Linked DNA regions of Homo sapiens: regions 1 and 3 are each linked to region 2. Evidence: promoter capture Hi-C in 16 types of primary human blood cells and fetal thymus (Javierre and others, 2016). All regions are on one chromosome and are shown on one strand. Each heading gives the region's core, a stretch centred on a gene start or on the middle of the fragment in contact. The rest is flanking DNA. Distances are from core to core; before and after follow the strand shown.

What was found. The method cuts DNA at HindIII sites, captures the fragments that hold promoters and counts their contacts. A CHiCAGO score of 5 or more calls a contact.
Region 1: a fragment that was not itself captured here is called in contact with the fragment with the promoter of PYROXD2 in region 2 in 2 of 17 cell types (activated CD4 T cells and non-activated CD4 T cells); the score reaches 5.2 in activated CD4 T cells.
Region 3: the fragment with the promoter of ENTPD7 here is called in contact with the fragment with the promoter of PYROXD2 in region 2 in 4 of 17 cell types (non-activated CD4 T cells, M0 macrophages, total CD8 T cells and 1 more); the score reaches 9.5 in non-activated CD4 T cells.

Annotation. Positions count from the first base shown.
Region 1 is chr10:99,435,094-99,439,640 of GRCh38, reverse strand. The region is part of intron 3 of GOT1-DT (GOT1 divergent transcript); the gene reads right to left. Among named protein-coding and RNA genes, the nearest start is that of GOT1-DT, 6.4 kb to the right of the region's middle. The HindIII fragment of the contact is 4,686 bases long and covers 1-3,697 here.
Region 2 is chr10:98,411,716-98,416,522 of GRCh38, reverse strand. It overlaps PYROXD2 (pyridine nucleotide-disulphide oxidoreductase domain 2), which reads left to right and starts at 1,341. Exons shown (of 16, transcript NM_032709.3): 1 at 1,341-1,514. The coding sequence starts at 1,388. It overlaps HPS1 (HPS1 biogenesis of lysosomal organelles complex 3 subunit 1), which reads left to right. Exons shown (of 20, transcript NM_000195.5): 20 at 1-325. The HindIII fragment of the contact is 3,850 bases long and covers 1-3,535 here.
Region 3 is chr10:99,657,167-99,661,787 of GRCh38, reverse strand. ENTPD7 (ectonucleoside triphosphate diphosphohydrolase 7) reads right to left here and starts at 2,279. Exons shown (of 13, transcript NM_020354.5): 1 at 2,200-2,279; 2 at 1,824-1,926; 3 at 160-342. The coding sequence starts at 1,831. It also overlaps a transcript of SLC25A28 not described here. RefSeq lists silencers at 2,051-2,270, 2,391-2,600. The HindIII fragment of the contact is 2,116 bases long and covers 1,392-3,507 here.

The sequences.
Region 1 (4,547 bases), core at 105-2,604, 1.0 Mb before region 2:
GTGCCGTGGTGGTTTGCTGCATAGATCATCCTGTCACCTAGCTATTCAGCCAAGCATCCATTAGCTGTTCTTTCTGATGCCCTCCTTCCTCCTACTCCCACCCCTGACAGGCCCCAGTGTGTGTTATTCCCCTTCATGTATCCATGTGTTCTTCATCATTCAGCCCCACTTATGAGAACATGCAGTATTTGGCAGTATTTGGTTTTCTGTTCCTGCGTTAGTTTGCTACGGATAATGGGGATTCATATTTTTAAAAATCACTAATTTATTAACTAAGGAGCATCAATAGCTCCCCAGATTTCCAGATCAACTCTAAACTGTAGCACACCACATTGTTCTTTATTTAAAAATAGTTTCTCATAGTATCTGAAGTTTTAAGTTACTACACACATACATACTTTGCTTTGGAGAATTACTTTTTCCTGTCCTACTTCATTGTCATTGTTAGAAACTATCTAAATTTTCTATTCCTGTGAAGTGTCTCTCAAGCCTGTTTTTAAAAAATTTTTATTTATTTTTGTTGACTCAGCAGGTGACTTGTTACACACGCCTTAGTGGATTCGACTTCCATGGCCACTGTCCTGCTTCAAACCTGTCATTTTTATTTTCAATGAAAACTTGATTTTTTTTTAGGCTACAAAAATAATACATGTGTTTACTCTTTTTCTGTTAAAGCAAAGCTACAATGCATAACTGTATGCCTACATACCTATCTTTGAAAACTTGTATAAATTTCTTTAGGATAGATTCCTAGAGGAGAAATTGCTTGGTCAAATGGTATTATGTGCATTTTGACTGTTATTACCAAAATACAAGAAAAGGCTTTATTCATTGACAGTCTCCCCAATAGTGCATGTCATTGCTCTTTTCCCTCAACACTATTTTTTGAACATTTAAAATGTTTGTCAGTCTAATGGGTAAACATTGATAAATCAGCGTGGTTTCAATTTTATAATGAGGATGATTTTGGACATGTTTACTGGTTATTTGTATTTATTCTTTTCTGAATTTCTTTATATCCTAATTTTTCCACCAATACAATGAAGCTCTGACTATATAACAGATGTGACTAATAAGCATGTTGCAAATATTCTTCCATGTTATCACATATTTATTTATGGTGTCTATAGCCATGCAAAGTCAATTATTTTCTTTATAGCTTCTGAGATTGTGCCATGATTAGGAAAGTCTATTCTACCCTAATACTATGTTTCAAATATATTATTTTCCCTATATTGTTTAAAATATTTAAATCTTATATCCATCTATAATTTATTTTGTGCAAAGGAGAAACCAATTTTTTAATATATCAAACAAATCTGACATAATTGACGGTCACAACATCAGATGAAAATCTGTGCTTGAAAAGGTGCATTGTTTTTAAAAGAGTTAAATACAATCTTGCCATCTTGAGAGTTCCAGAACTCTCTACAGCCAATGCAAGGGCCTTTTCTAGGACAGTTTCCCGTCATACTCCAGGCCTCACACATACCGGCCAAATAAAAATGCTATTGTGATACCAATAGTGATTAGAAATAATACTTTATTTTCAGTAATTAACAAAAGTCAGATATCCTGAAAATCAAATAATTGGCAAGTGAGTTTATATTTTAACCTGATAATTTCCTTCTCATAAATGTTTAATTGTATGTTAGACATAAATCACTCAAGAAAGCATTTTATAGCGGCACCTTCTTTTCTGGCATCTATTTTCAGGTTTATAGAAAATGGCTAGGCCAGGCACAGTTGCTCATGCCTGTAATCCCACCACTTTGGGCTGCTGAGGCGGGTGGATCACTTGAGGTCTGGAGTTCTAGGCCAGTCTTGGCCAACATGGTAAAACACCATTTCTACTAAAAATACAAAAACTTGCCAGGCGTGGTGGCAGGCACATGTAATCCCAGCTACTCGGGAGGCTGAGGCAGGAGAATCACTTGAACCTGGGAGGCAGCAGTTGCAGTGAGCCAGGATGGTGCCACTGAACTCCAGCTTGGGCGACACAGCAAGACTCTGTCTCAAAAAAAAAGAATTCTGGATGAAAAAGTCCTAGAGATGTGTTGCACAACAATGTGCATATAGTAAACACTAATATACAGTATACTTAAAAATGATTAAGATGGTAAATACATGTTTTTTTACCACAATTTTAAAAAGAGTTAATTATGTCTTGTGGTTTATGTTTTTAATCAACCAACAAATATTTGAGTACCTAGATACCTTATTGTGGAGGATACCAAGAAGTGCAATTGATGGTTTCAGTTCTCAAGGAACTAGCAACCAAGTTGGGAGAAAATATTGAGTATACATAAAAGTTAATTAACAATCTCAGGCAATAGAATGATACCAAATGAGGAGAAGAGACATAAAGTCTTCTAGGCAGGAATCTTTTTGGGCTACAGTGATAGAAATATTCATTAGGTACTTAAATGGCTTTCAAACCATTTTAATACATATTTTCTAAATTGACCCTTTTAATAAATCTAGGAGGTATTATCTCCATTTAACAGATGAAATAAAAGCTCAGAGACTGTAATTTGCCCAACTTCACATGGCAGAGCTGGGAACTAGACTCAACGTCTTTCAGTGCTTATTCCTAGTGGGATTTATCTAAATTGGCATTGAAGATTTGCTGCCAAAAGAGTTTTCAGGGTTAAACAGAATCCAAATGTGCTAGGATTACCATGGTTTTGTATTTGCTAAAATTAGAATTATTCTGTCAGCTTGCTAAAGAGCATCAAGTAACTTTAGTAAAAAATAACAGATCATTTTTTCTTGCTGTTTACCGGTTAGGGAAACTCAAATCATACTGTGATAGAATGACGACGAGCATACAAGGCTTCAATTTCACTACTTATACACAGCCATTTAGCCAACTGCAGTCCCATGAAAGACATTCTTTACCCATCTTGTCTGACACCACTCCTTAAAGTCATAATACACATACTGTATTTGAGCTAGTTCTGACCTGACCCACGTATGACAGAGAGCAACACTAACACAGCAGAATAAAGGCAGTGAATAAGAATTTAGAAGCACTTATCAGGGCTAAGACTATATGAGTTACACACATTTTTTAAAACTACATCCTGCTATTTCAGTAGATTGACTTCTATCCAGAACGTGCAGGAGCATTAGGTCTGTTCATACAATAACCCTATCTGATTACCCAGGGTCAAGCTACTGTTTATCTTTACTAGACAGAACCCATATCCTGAGTGGGGGACCTCAAACCTTCCGTGTTTTTTGCATTACCTGGTGCACCACTTCCAGGTAATGCAGGCTCTGACATTCTTTATACATAATCACCTAAACCATAATAAAAATACTCCAATTTTTTGTTTTTTTTTAATGGTAAAAGTAAACACAGACACAGGGGTCAGGAGCTTTGCCTTTATTTTCCTTCTCAAGAGTGCTCAACATTTTGCAAAAGAAGGATAGTGCTGCCCTCTACTGCTCAATGTTGAAATATTATTAATAAACGAGGTTCCTACTAGCTTTGTGTACTAGATTACCACAATTTATTACACTGTTTTAAACGAACCCTTTAAGAGTTATTTAAAAGACTGTGTTCTTGGCAAACACATTGAATTTGTTTCCTTCATTATCTCTTCATATACCTTCATCTTGTACCAAAGAGTAGGATTTTAGGACACGACACAACCAAAAGAAGGACATTACAACTTTGGGGAAGAAAGCTTAACATGGCTCTAGAAGTAAGAGACTGTACTGGTGATCCATTTAAGGAGAAACGGGGCAAGGAGAGGAAATTTTCTTCTGACTTCAAGGTCTGTAGCCTTCCCATTCTTCTGTTATTTGGAGTGTCTTCATTTGTTTTTTTGCTAAGGCAATCCATTTCCTTCTTTCTGTTTCTTTGGAGAAGGCTGCTGCCCCAGGATGTGGAGAGAATAGTGTTTCTAAAACATTTTTCTATTCTTCAGAAAAAGATAATATAGCTATACAAAGGGCTATCATTAACATTTACATTTTAATTAATTATTAATAAAGTTGTCTTATTACCTTTAAATTGCCTTGAGATTTTATAGATCTCTACAAAGACTTCTTGGAGGGCTCTAGATATTTTGAAAATTGTGTTCTCTGTTTTCTTTTCCATTTGAAAAATATTTCGGAGTACATGCCTGCAAGGGGCCAGATCAGGCAGACTTCAAAGAGAGTTTGCCTAACCATTAGCACCCTACAGCAACCCAGGGACGAATTTCCTCATATGACAATAGTAAAAACAATAATTTCTATAACTGTGTTAAATGTGTGTATATCAACACTAAGCAAAATTCTTTTTAAAAGTAAATTACATATAAGAATATTAAAACTCAGACACATCAAGTAATTTACTCAAAGTTTCAAAACTATAAGAGGCAAAGCTAGAATTTGACTCCAGGCCCCAGCCTACGTACTGTTCTAGTATACCGCTAGTAATTTAATAAAAAAGCTAAACAAATCTCAAAGGCAAGTGCTTGTAAACAACATCTGTGATGATAATAACGGTCCCAGTTAATACCTGAGTACTAAGTGTCAAGTACAATTCAGTT
Region 2 (4,807 bases), core at 92-2,591:
GCTGGGGGAACTAGAACCCACATGTTGGTCTAAACCCTGAGAAGGTGGCAGTGAGGAAGTATCCCCTCAGGTGACTGGATCTGTGTTCCTCCTTAACATCATCTGATGGAATGGCAATGAAAAGCGTGGATTGTGGAAAATACAGAAAAACATAAAGGAAAAAACTCCAATCCCCTGAGCCCACCACTGTTCAGGACCCCTGCTTTTGTCACCTACTATTTCCCTTTAGTTTTTAGCAGCGGCTGGATGTGATATGTCTAGTTTAACCAGTCCCCTTGATCTTTCTATATAATAAATAACACAGGAGTGAACATCCTGAATCAGATCTTAGCAGAGATGCTCACATGCGGGGTAACTGTCCATGGTGTGTGGAGGGGTCCTCGGAACCCCCTCTTAGGATCATCTCCACATACTCTCCCAGTTCTGAGATTCGTTACCAATAGCAGGTTTCCGTCACACTGCGATATCAGAGCAGTGCAGGAACTCTCCGCTCCAAGGGGTTTTTTCCTCCTAGGGGAACACTCTGCTAAGTAATGGGCAGAGAACAAAGGGGCTCCTAATTCAAGGCAGGCCTAAGGGAGGGTCAGAAAGAACTTTAGCTGGAGGTATTTACAGATGTGACCTCGAATCCTTGGGGATTCTTGGAAAATGGGCAAGGTGCCAAAAGAGGAGAACTGGCCAGGCCTTCAAAACTAAAACACCAGAGAATTACAGACAGCGAACTTGCCCCTAAGCCCTCGTTGTGGGTTTGTGTTTGAGCATTTAGGAGAGGACTCCAGTGCTCCTCAGCGACAGACACAGCTGCCTCTGCGGTGTCTGAAGGCCCTGGTCGTGGTGACGCTAGATGGCCGCCCTGGGCGCCTCCTGTGGGCGTAGAGGCATCACCACTCTGCACTGGCAGACTCAGCATGGAGTTGGAGCAGAGTCTGACACGAGCACTTGCCATCCCAGGCGTTTCAGTTCTGACTGAGAAGGTAGATGCACAGGGGAGGAGAGGGCCCTTTCGAGCTCCACTCTGCCTCCACCACTCATTCCCTAACCCCGCAGCCTCAGCGCCCTCATCTGTAAAATGGGGAGTTTTGCCTACAGGGTTCAGCACAATGCCAGCCTGACATAGGAACCCCAGTGGATTGTCAGTTTTGCCATTATCCCCTGCATCCTGGAGGTGACACCGCCTGGTTAATAGGCAACACTCCCGACGGCCCAGCACAGCCCCAGGGCAGCAGGAGGCTGGCCTGTGGCCAAGAATGCATGGTGGAGGGGGCCTGGAGGGGGACTGCAGCTCCTCCTCTTCCTGCTTCCTCCCTGCTCCACCCCGTGCCTAGGGCAGCACAAAAGCCAATCGCTAGCAAACTCCCTGCCTAGCAAGGCCCAGCCTGGGGCAGAAATGGCTGCAAGTGGCCGAGGTCTCTGCAAGGCTGTGGCCGCCTCTCCCTTCCCGGCGTGGAGACGAGATAACACGGAAGCCAGGGGAGGTCTGAAGCCTGAGTATGATGCGGTGGTGATAGGAGCAGGTAAAGTGGTAAAGCAGGCCGGGCCAGAGCTGAGGGGCGGGAAGACAGCCCTGCTCAGAGCTTGGTGGGGAGGGGGAGGGGGAGCCAAGCCCCACTGCTCTCTCCTCTGGCATAACCCAGCCAGAAGTTTATACGCTAGCAGGGGCTGCAATGGAAAGCCCTTCCATCTGGCAGGCAGGCACCTGGGATTCCGGTGCTGGCTCTGCTGTGTGGCCTGGGGCAAATGCTTGCCTTCTCTGGGCTTGGATCTTCCCATGGAGAATGACAGGAAGACTAGGTGAGCTCAGGGGTTTCCCTATATCTCTTGCAAAGTGACCTAGTTTCCACCACATTCTCAGCCTATGGTTTGTAAGGGTTGGAAAGAGCCCTGGGCCAACAGACAAGTGAAATCCAGCACCCCGCCCCCTCAGTGCCCTGAGTTCTGGTCACCACTACCTTACCACTGAGGCCACCCCTCGTCACAAGAAACTGCAGTCATTTCATAAAGGCCAGTTAGGATAAAACAGAACTGAGTCCCAGAGTTCCTACTGCGTGTCTGCAGAGGGAGATGGACCCCATTGCCTTGCAGCTCTGGGACATTTGGGGATCTGCAGTGATCTGCCACACTTTGCCAACCCCTGGGCTCAGAGTATCACAGTCTACTGGGTGCTAGGGGAAGAGGCAGGCCCAGGACCAGGTGGTCTTTCCTTAGTGCCTTCCTTTCACACTTGCAGAGGGCCCCAAATGCATGATTGCCAACTGGGTCTATACAGAGATAATGACGGGACCGAAAGCAGACGGCACTCAACATGCAGCTTTGAGGGCATGCCTTCATTTTCATATGTACTAGAGCAGTTGCGAGCTGGTAGATACTCAACACTCACCTCTCCAGGGAAAAATGTGTGATGTATGTGTGTGTGTACATGTATATATATGTATATATACACACATATATGTGTATATATATGTATATGTGTTACGTACATATATATACACATATACACATGCTTATTTTAAATATTGAAATAAAAGATACACTGCACACAATTTTACAAATAAAGATACAATACTCTCAATTTAAATGCAGTCTACCCGAGTGATTCTTACCAAAGGCTTTCTTTGATTTTTGCCAAACTCAGTAGCCAACCTATAGTTGCAAATGACAAATGAGGGTAGCTCCAAAGAGAACGGTGCTCCATATTTTCTGTAAAGAGTAGGATGATCGTGAAACAAATGAAACAACAAAGATTTATGTCCCAACCTTACTCCTTTATTTTTTAAAATTTATTTTTATTTTATTTATTTATTCATTTATTGAGATGGAGTCTTGCTCTGTTGCCCAGGCTGGAGTGCAGCGGCGCAATCTCGGCTCACTGCAACCTCCGCCTCCTGGGTTCAAGCGATTCTCTTGCCTCAGCCTCCCGAGTAGCTGGGACTACAGGCGCCCACCACCACGCCCGGCTAATTTTTGTATTTTTAGTAGAGACGGGGTTTCACCATGTTGGCGAGGCTGATCTCAAACTCCTGGCCTTGTGATCCACCTGCCTCAGCCTCCCAAAGGGCTGGGATTACAGGTGTGAGCCACTGCGCCCGGCCTCCTTCTTTAAATGACAGGAATGATGTTACTCAAATAAGATAATATTGTTCTAATACTAGAATATTTCCTTCAATTTTTGTGCTATTTATTCATGCTATAACAGCTAACACTGTTAGGTTTAATCTGCATTATTAGCATTTTCCCATCACTTTCTTAAGCCTGACCACAAAAAATAAATTCAGCCCTTCTGTGTAATATTTGCTGATGACAGTGGTGTAAATACTCCCACCATAGCCTTTTCTGTTACCAAGATGAGGTTGCTCAATGTGATTTAGGAGAGATACCCAGTAGCACATCATTGTATAGTGTGTCCACCATGCAGATATGTACATAGAGGCCAGTGACTGCCAGGGCATGGGCAACAGTCAAATGTAGTAAAACAAATAGGAGGTAGTGTGTTTTGAGTATTTATTACCTTTGTTTTTAATTTATTTAATTGTAAGCTTATATAATTTAGTTTATATCAATGGCTGTTTGACAGCCGGCTCACAAACTCCCCGGGCTGGTGGGAGCCATCTCCAGCACCTCACTTAGCCTCAGAGAAGCCCCCTGCCTCCTTCCGTGCTCAGCCACAGCTCACCCTGCTGTCTCCTAATGGGGAAGGTTGACTTTAGGTCACCAGCTGCCTTGGTGACTTGCCTACAAGTGCGAGTGAGTCTCAGTGTGTGAGCTTTTCCTTGACATGATTTCTTTAGTTGCTAAACATACCATAAAGCCTGGTTTAAAGGCATCTTGGGCCTCAGTGAGGAACAGAACGGCATCTTCTGAGACAAGGGTTACCTCTGAGTCCCTGAAGGCACACTGGCACCTGGCCGCCACCTTGAAGATGAATCTCATTTAGTCATTTGACTAAATGTGCCTGAGAGTGACTGAGGGGGCTTGTTAAAATGGAGATTCCTGGCCCCATACCTGGTGACGAGCATTCTGAGGGCGGGAGGTGTCTCCCAGAGGTCAGCACATCCACCCAACCAACACTGCCTGATGCAGGCAGCTGCAGAGCCCACGCCCAGAGCAGCTCCTCAAGGGCCCAGGCGCCTGCTATGGGGCCCCTGAGGCAGGTCTGGGGATTAGCAGAGCCCGCAGCTGAAGTCCTCTTCAAGGGAACAGAGGTGTCACCAGAAGCCAAGGAGGGCTCAGCCAGGACTTGAGGGTGGTCACTGGGAGGGGGTCTTGTGCTTTGGATCCTTGACCTTACTCATTTGAGGTCTGCCATGATTGAACTGGACCCAGTTGCCTGGAAGACTATGAGTTTTCCAAGATCGATCATCAGCACCAATTAAAAGACAAATAGCTCCCATTTATCTCATCCTTGCCACACTGCAGGGTCCCTGGCACCCTCTGTTCCCCATGTGAAGAAACTCAAGGCTCAGGGCAGCTGATGACTCTCTGAGGTCATGCCCTGGCAAATAGCAGAGGCTGGGCTGAGCCCAGGACTGTCTGCCTTTAGTTTGCTGCATGTCTTTGAGAGACAGATTCCATCTGTTCATGAGTCCCACTGGCGGATTGTTTAAACTTTCTTATGAACATTTTCAAAAGCCCATACAAATAAAGAGTATGTCAACCAGCACTTTTTAAGATGAACTGTAACCAACTAGCTTCTCACATGCTTCTCATATGGTAAGAGTTAATTTTAGCTCATGAAACTTTTGGTTCTGTGAAACACCTGCTGAACAGACTCCTGGGAAGGGGGTCTGTGGGAGTCGACATTTATACAACC
Region 3 (4,621 bases), core at 1,030-3,529, 1.2 Mb before region 2:
ATTGCCAAAATAGGGCTTAAAATCTTCTTTATGTAATAAATGGCATGCAATTTTACTAATAAAAGTACAGTATCACCCAAAAGGGTCAAAGTCAGTAGTGTGTTAAACAGCTTATGAAAATATTTATGACTTGAGTGCCAAAATCTAAAGCTGACTCACCTTTCGTATTGCCTATCTCGTGGTAATGAAGCACTCCAATGTCGAAAGTCTATGATTAACATAAGTAAAAGGAGACAGGATATGAAGAAGAGTCCCAGGAATGCCACCCGCTGACGGAGAAATGGACTCACTGTGGGCACAGTGAAGTACCAGGAGGCTGGGCAGAGGTAGGAAAAACTGATCCTGAAATTAGACAAACATTAGTAAGTCTGAAACATTTCTACAACTGAGTGCTTAAATATCGTTTTAAAATTGGATAAAACCCTCCTAATAAAGGCAAAAATCCATGCCAACAGAAGTCTAAATGTTCTTGTCATCTCTAATTTTAGAAGAAGCTCATGGTGCTTCTACTATATATATCAGAAAAGCCTTATCTGCCCTTTTTCCAAACTGCACTTTGAGTGCAATTCAAAGACTTAATCTCATGTTAGTGAAAAGATCACCAGTCTCCCTGGGCAACCTCATAACATTGGAGAATCAGAGCAACTACAGTATTCCCAACCAAGAATTCTGTCAAGAAACAGGATGGTCAGAAAATTTATTTAACTGATTTTAAAAATGTTTTACCAGATTATACAAGCACATAGTAAAAGACAAATCAGTTTAAAAGGATATATTGTATAGTGAAAAGTGATTCTTGCCCTGACCCCACAATCTCTCAGAGGCAAACATTACTACCCAGTTGCTGTGTAATTTTTTTTTTTTTTGAGATGGAGTCTTGCTCTGTTGCCCAGGCTGGAGTGTAGTAGCGCAATCTCAGCTCACTGCAACCTCCACCTCCTGGGTTCAAGCGATTCTTCTCCCTCAGCCTCCCCAGTAGCTGGGATTACAGGTGACTGCCACCACACCCGGCTAATTTTCGTATTTTTAGTAGAGACCGGGTTTCTACTTGGCCAGGCTGGTCCTGAACTCCTGACCTCAGGTGATCTGCCTGCCTTGGCCTCCCAAAGTGCTGGGATTACAGGCGTGAGCTACTGCACCTGGCCGTTGCTGTGTATCTTTCCAGGGATATTCTACGGATACACAAGCATAAATATACACCAATATATTTACAGTAATATATCTCTGTGTGTGTGTGTGTGTGTGTGTGTGTGTGTGTGTGCGTATCCATTCCCTCGGTTTTACACAAATGGTAGTCCACCATACCTGCTGTTCTGCATCTTTCCCCCACTTTATTTTATAACTTTCCCTTATTGGTGCATGTAGATCCACATTAATATTTTTTAAAAGCTTCAGGTTATTATAATGTATGGATAAGTGTATTCATCTGTGAAGTTCACTTTGTATATTGATTCAAAAGGACCTCGGTCTGTCTGCTTTTAAAGTTCACTGCAAACAAAAAACAAAAAAACTTCTTTGTTTAACCTCCTCAAGTGGCACCTAGCCTTGCTCAGATGCGAATCTGAATCAATGTTACAACCTTGCACTTTACAGAGCTGAGCAAGCCGACTCACTCTACCACTCCTGGTCTATGGGCTAGAAACTATTATTTATCAGCCCTCGAAATAATACAACTTTGATCGTCTCTGCATCCAACTAACCAGAATACAAAGTCCAAGTGCAGCTCCAGGGCAAACCTCACTTGGGACAGCCTCCCAGGGCCCCCCAACCTGCCTGCCATCCTCTGCCGTGCTCCCAGCCGGAGGGAAAGTGTGCAGCCTTACCTAGCCATGGGTTCCCTTCGGTGGTCTCAACGCCTGTCACCTTCTTTTTCTTTTGCCCTGAGAAGGTGGCCTCCTTGTCCCAGGCATCTCCTACGTCTGCAGCCTAGAAAGATTTGATTTCAGGCTTCTGTCCGACTGAGCCCACGAGACAAACCTGCACGGGAATTCCACGGCTCCCACCTCCTCCCCAGGCTCCCGCTCCGTCTGCTCTGGTTCCTCAGGCCCAGGGGACCCTACCCGGGCATCCTGGGAGCGGGGCGTTCTCGTGGGCCAGCTCTGTCCTCTAGGAACCGGTCGTCCCCAGGTGGCGGGGTGTGGGTCCCGCTTCCTCTCCCCGTCCCTCCGGGTCCCACAGCCCTCTCGCGCCCACACTCACGGGATCAAGCGGCCCGCCGGTTCCTTCGGCACCTCTCGGTTCAGTCCCGAGCTGCTCCCCGCGGCCCCTTGCCCAGCCGGAAGGAGGGCCCGGCCGGCGGCGGCGCCACGTCCCCAAGGAAACCGCAGGGAGCCAATGACTGACAGAAGACTCACGGAGGGGCCGGCTCTCCACGAGCCGAACCGGGGGCGAACCAGCTCGGTCAGCAGCACGTCCGTCCGCCAGGGTGGCCAATCCCCTAGAGCGCTCGGCCTCTGATGCCCGCCCCGGGACTTTGAGCCGCGCCCAATCGGAAAGGCGTCGTACCGAGGCTCCGCCTGCAGGGCCCGCGGAGAGCTCACAGGTGAGTGGCGCTGGGCGGCCCTGTGCCCGCTTCCCTCCCTGGGGCGCGAACTCTCGGCTGGTTGCTTTCTCCACGGCCGCTCCTGGGACAGAGTAGCTCCGGTAGGTGGGTTCAGGGTGTTCGCGACCGAAGCGCATCCCTTGCCCATAACCTATTGTTGGTTTTGTGCCCACTGACCCTCCCTACCAGAATGGCAGTTCTCTCACCTTAAACCTTCCCTATCACCTCCCAAACTGATGCCCCGACCTCACTGTCTTGCCCCGTGAGAAAACAGAAATCGAAGACAATGACGTTTACACCAAAGTGCTTATGTCCATTCATTCATTCATTGAATGTCTGCTTATGCCAGTCATCATGAATTTCTGTGTCGCCGCCCTCCTTGACCTTACAGTAACACAAAGGAAACGACGCGCGCGCGTGGGTGTGTGTGTGTTTCTTTCTTGCTTACACCAGCCGTTATCTCATTTCCAGGAGGACGGCATAAAGTCCAAGCTCTTTCCAACGTGGCACATCCATTGCGCCCCACGATCCGCCCTACCGCCGTCCTCTGCCGCTACTTGCCTTCCTTACCACGCTCCAGCAACGCGTCCTGTTTTGCTCATTCTGCCCCTCCACCTGCCTTGAATAACCGTCCCAGCCTCTTAGCCAAATCACCTCCTACTCATCCCTTACCACCCATCTTAAGGGTCGCCTTCCCCTAAAAGCCCTACTTGACCTACTACACCTTTTTTATACATGCCTATTGTTTCACTTAGCACGTTGAATTACTATTATACGTATATGTCTGTCTGTCTGTCCCACTAGACAGAATATCCTTGAAGGCAGGGACTATTTGCTTCCACATATTCCCAATACTGGCCACTGCCTGGCAGATAAAACACAACTAATGTATAATTAATAAGCAAATGAATGAATGGGGGGGATCGGGGAGGAAGACCACCCAAATGCTTTATTTATTCAAAGCTTACTATGACAAGGGAGTCAGTCACCATCACTTGCATTTGGCCGACTCAAAGCCTGTCAGGACATTAGGAAAACTACTTACTTACTTAATTACCTACAGGGTCTCACTCTGTTGTCATCCAGGCTGGAGTGCAGTGGTGCGATCGTGGTTCACTGCAGCCTCGACCTCCTGAGCAAGCGATCCTCCCACCTCAACCTCCTGAGTAGCTGGCTCTACAGGCACGTGCCACCATGCCCAGCTTATTTTTTTTTAATTCTTTGTAGAGATGGAGTCTCACTATGTTGTCCAGGCTGGTCTTGAACTCCTGGGCTCAAGCAGTCTTCCTGTCTCAGCCTCCCAAAGTGCTGGGATTACAGGGATGAGCAGCTGCACCTGGCCAGGAAAGCTTAGTAGTGAACAAAAAGGGAAGGTTTCATGTATACTCTGACTTGAGGGTATTAGCATGGGAAAGCTGGAGGTGGGCTAACAAAAGTAGTGTCTCTTAGGTGATTGGTTTGGGGTAGGTAGCATATTTGGCTGTCTTTAGTGGGTTCTGAGTTGAAGAAAGGAGGCGGCAAAAAACAGGGAAACTGAGTCATTGACCAAGTCCTGATTATTCTCGGCTGGTTGCTGTAGAGGTTGTGGGTCAGAGTTCTAATTGTCATATAAGATCTAGCCATTGTCCAGTTTCTATATTCAGTTCTCATGACTATTGTTTTTTTGGCTCCACTACTCTCCTAACCTTGTTGAACTTCCTAATTTGCCTTTCTTCTTCAATTCTCAGTTCTCAGTTTTTTTTTCTCTGTCCCTCAATCCCCACTCTGCTTCAAGTGTTATATTTTATCTGGACCCCCAGAAACCACATTGAATAGAATAGTTGCATAAAGTTGGGATTAACCACAACATTATACAGATACCAGTTATTTTTATTATTTCAGAACCCAGTTCAGTTCCTAGAACAAAATAGATATGGAAAGAACTAAAATAATGTTTTGGAGTAATTTTTAAAAATTTCTTGAATTTACCTTCTGTGAGTTCTAAGTCTAATCTCTATACATATATATTTCAAACTTTAGTGTTCCACAAAATAGGTGTTTTTGAGTGGAAGTATAATTCCTATTTTTAAAATAGTACTT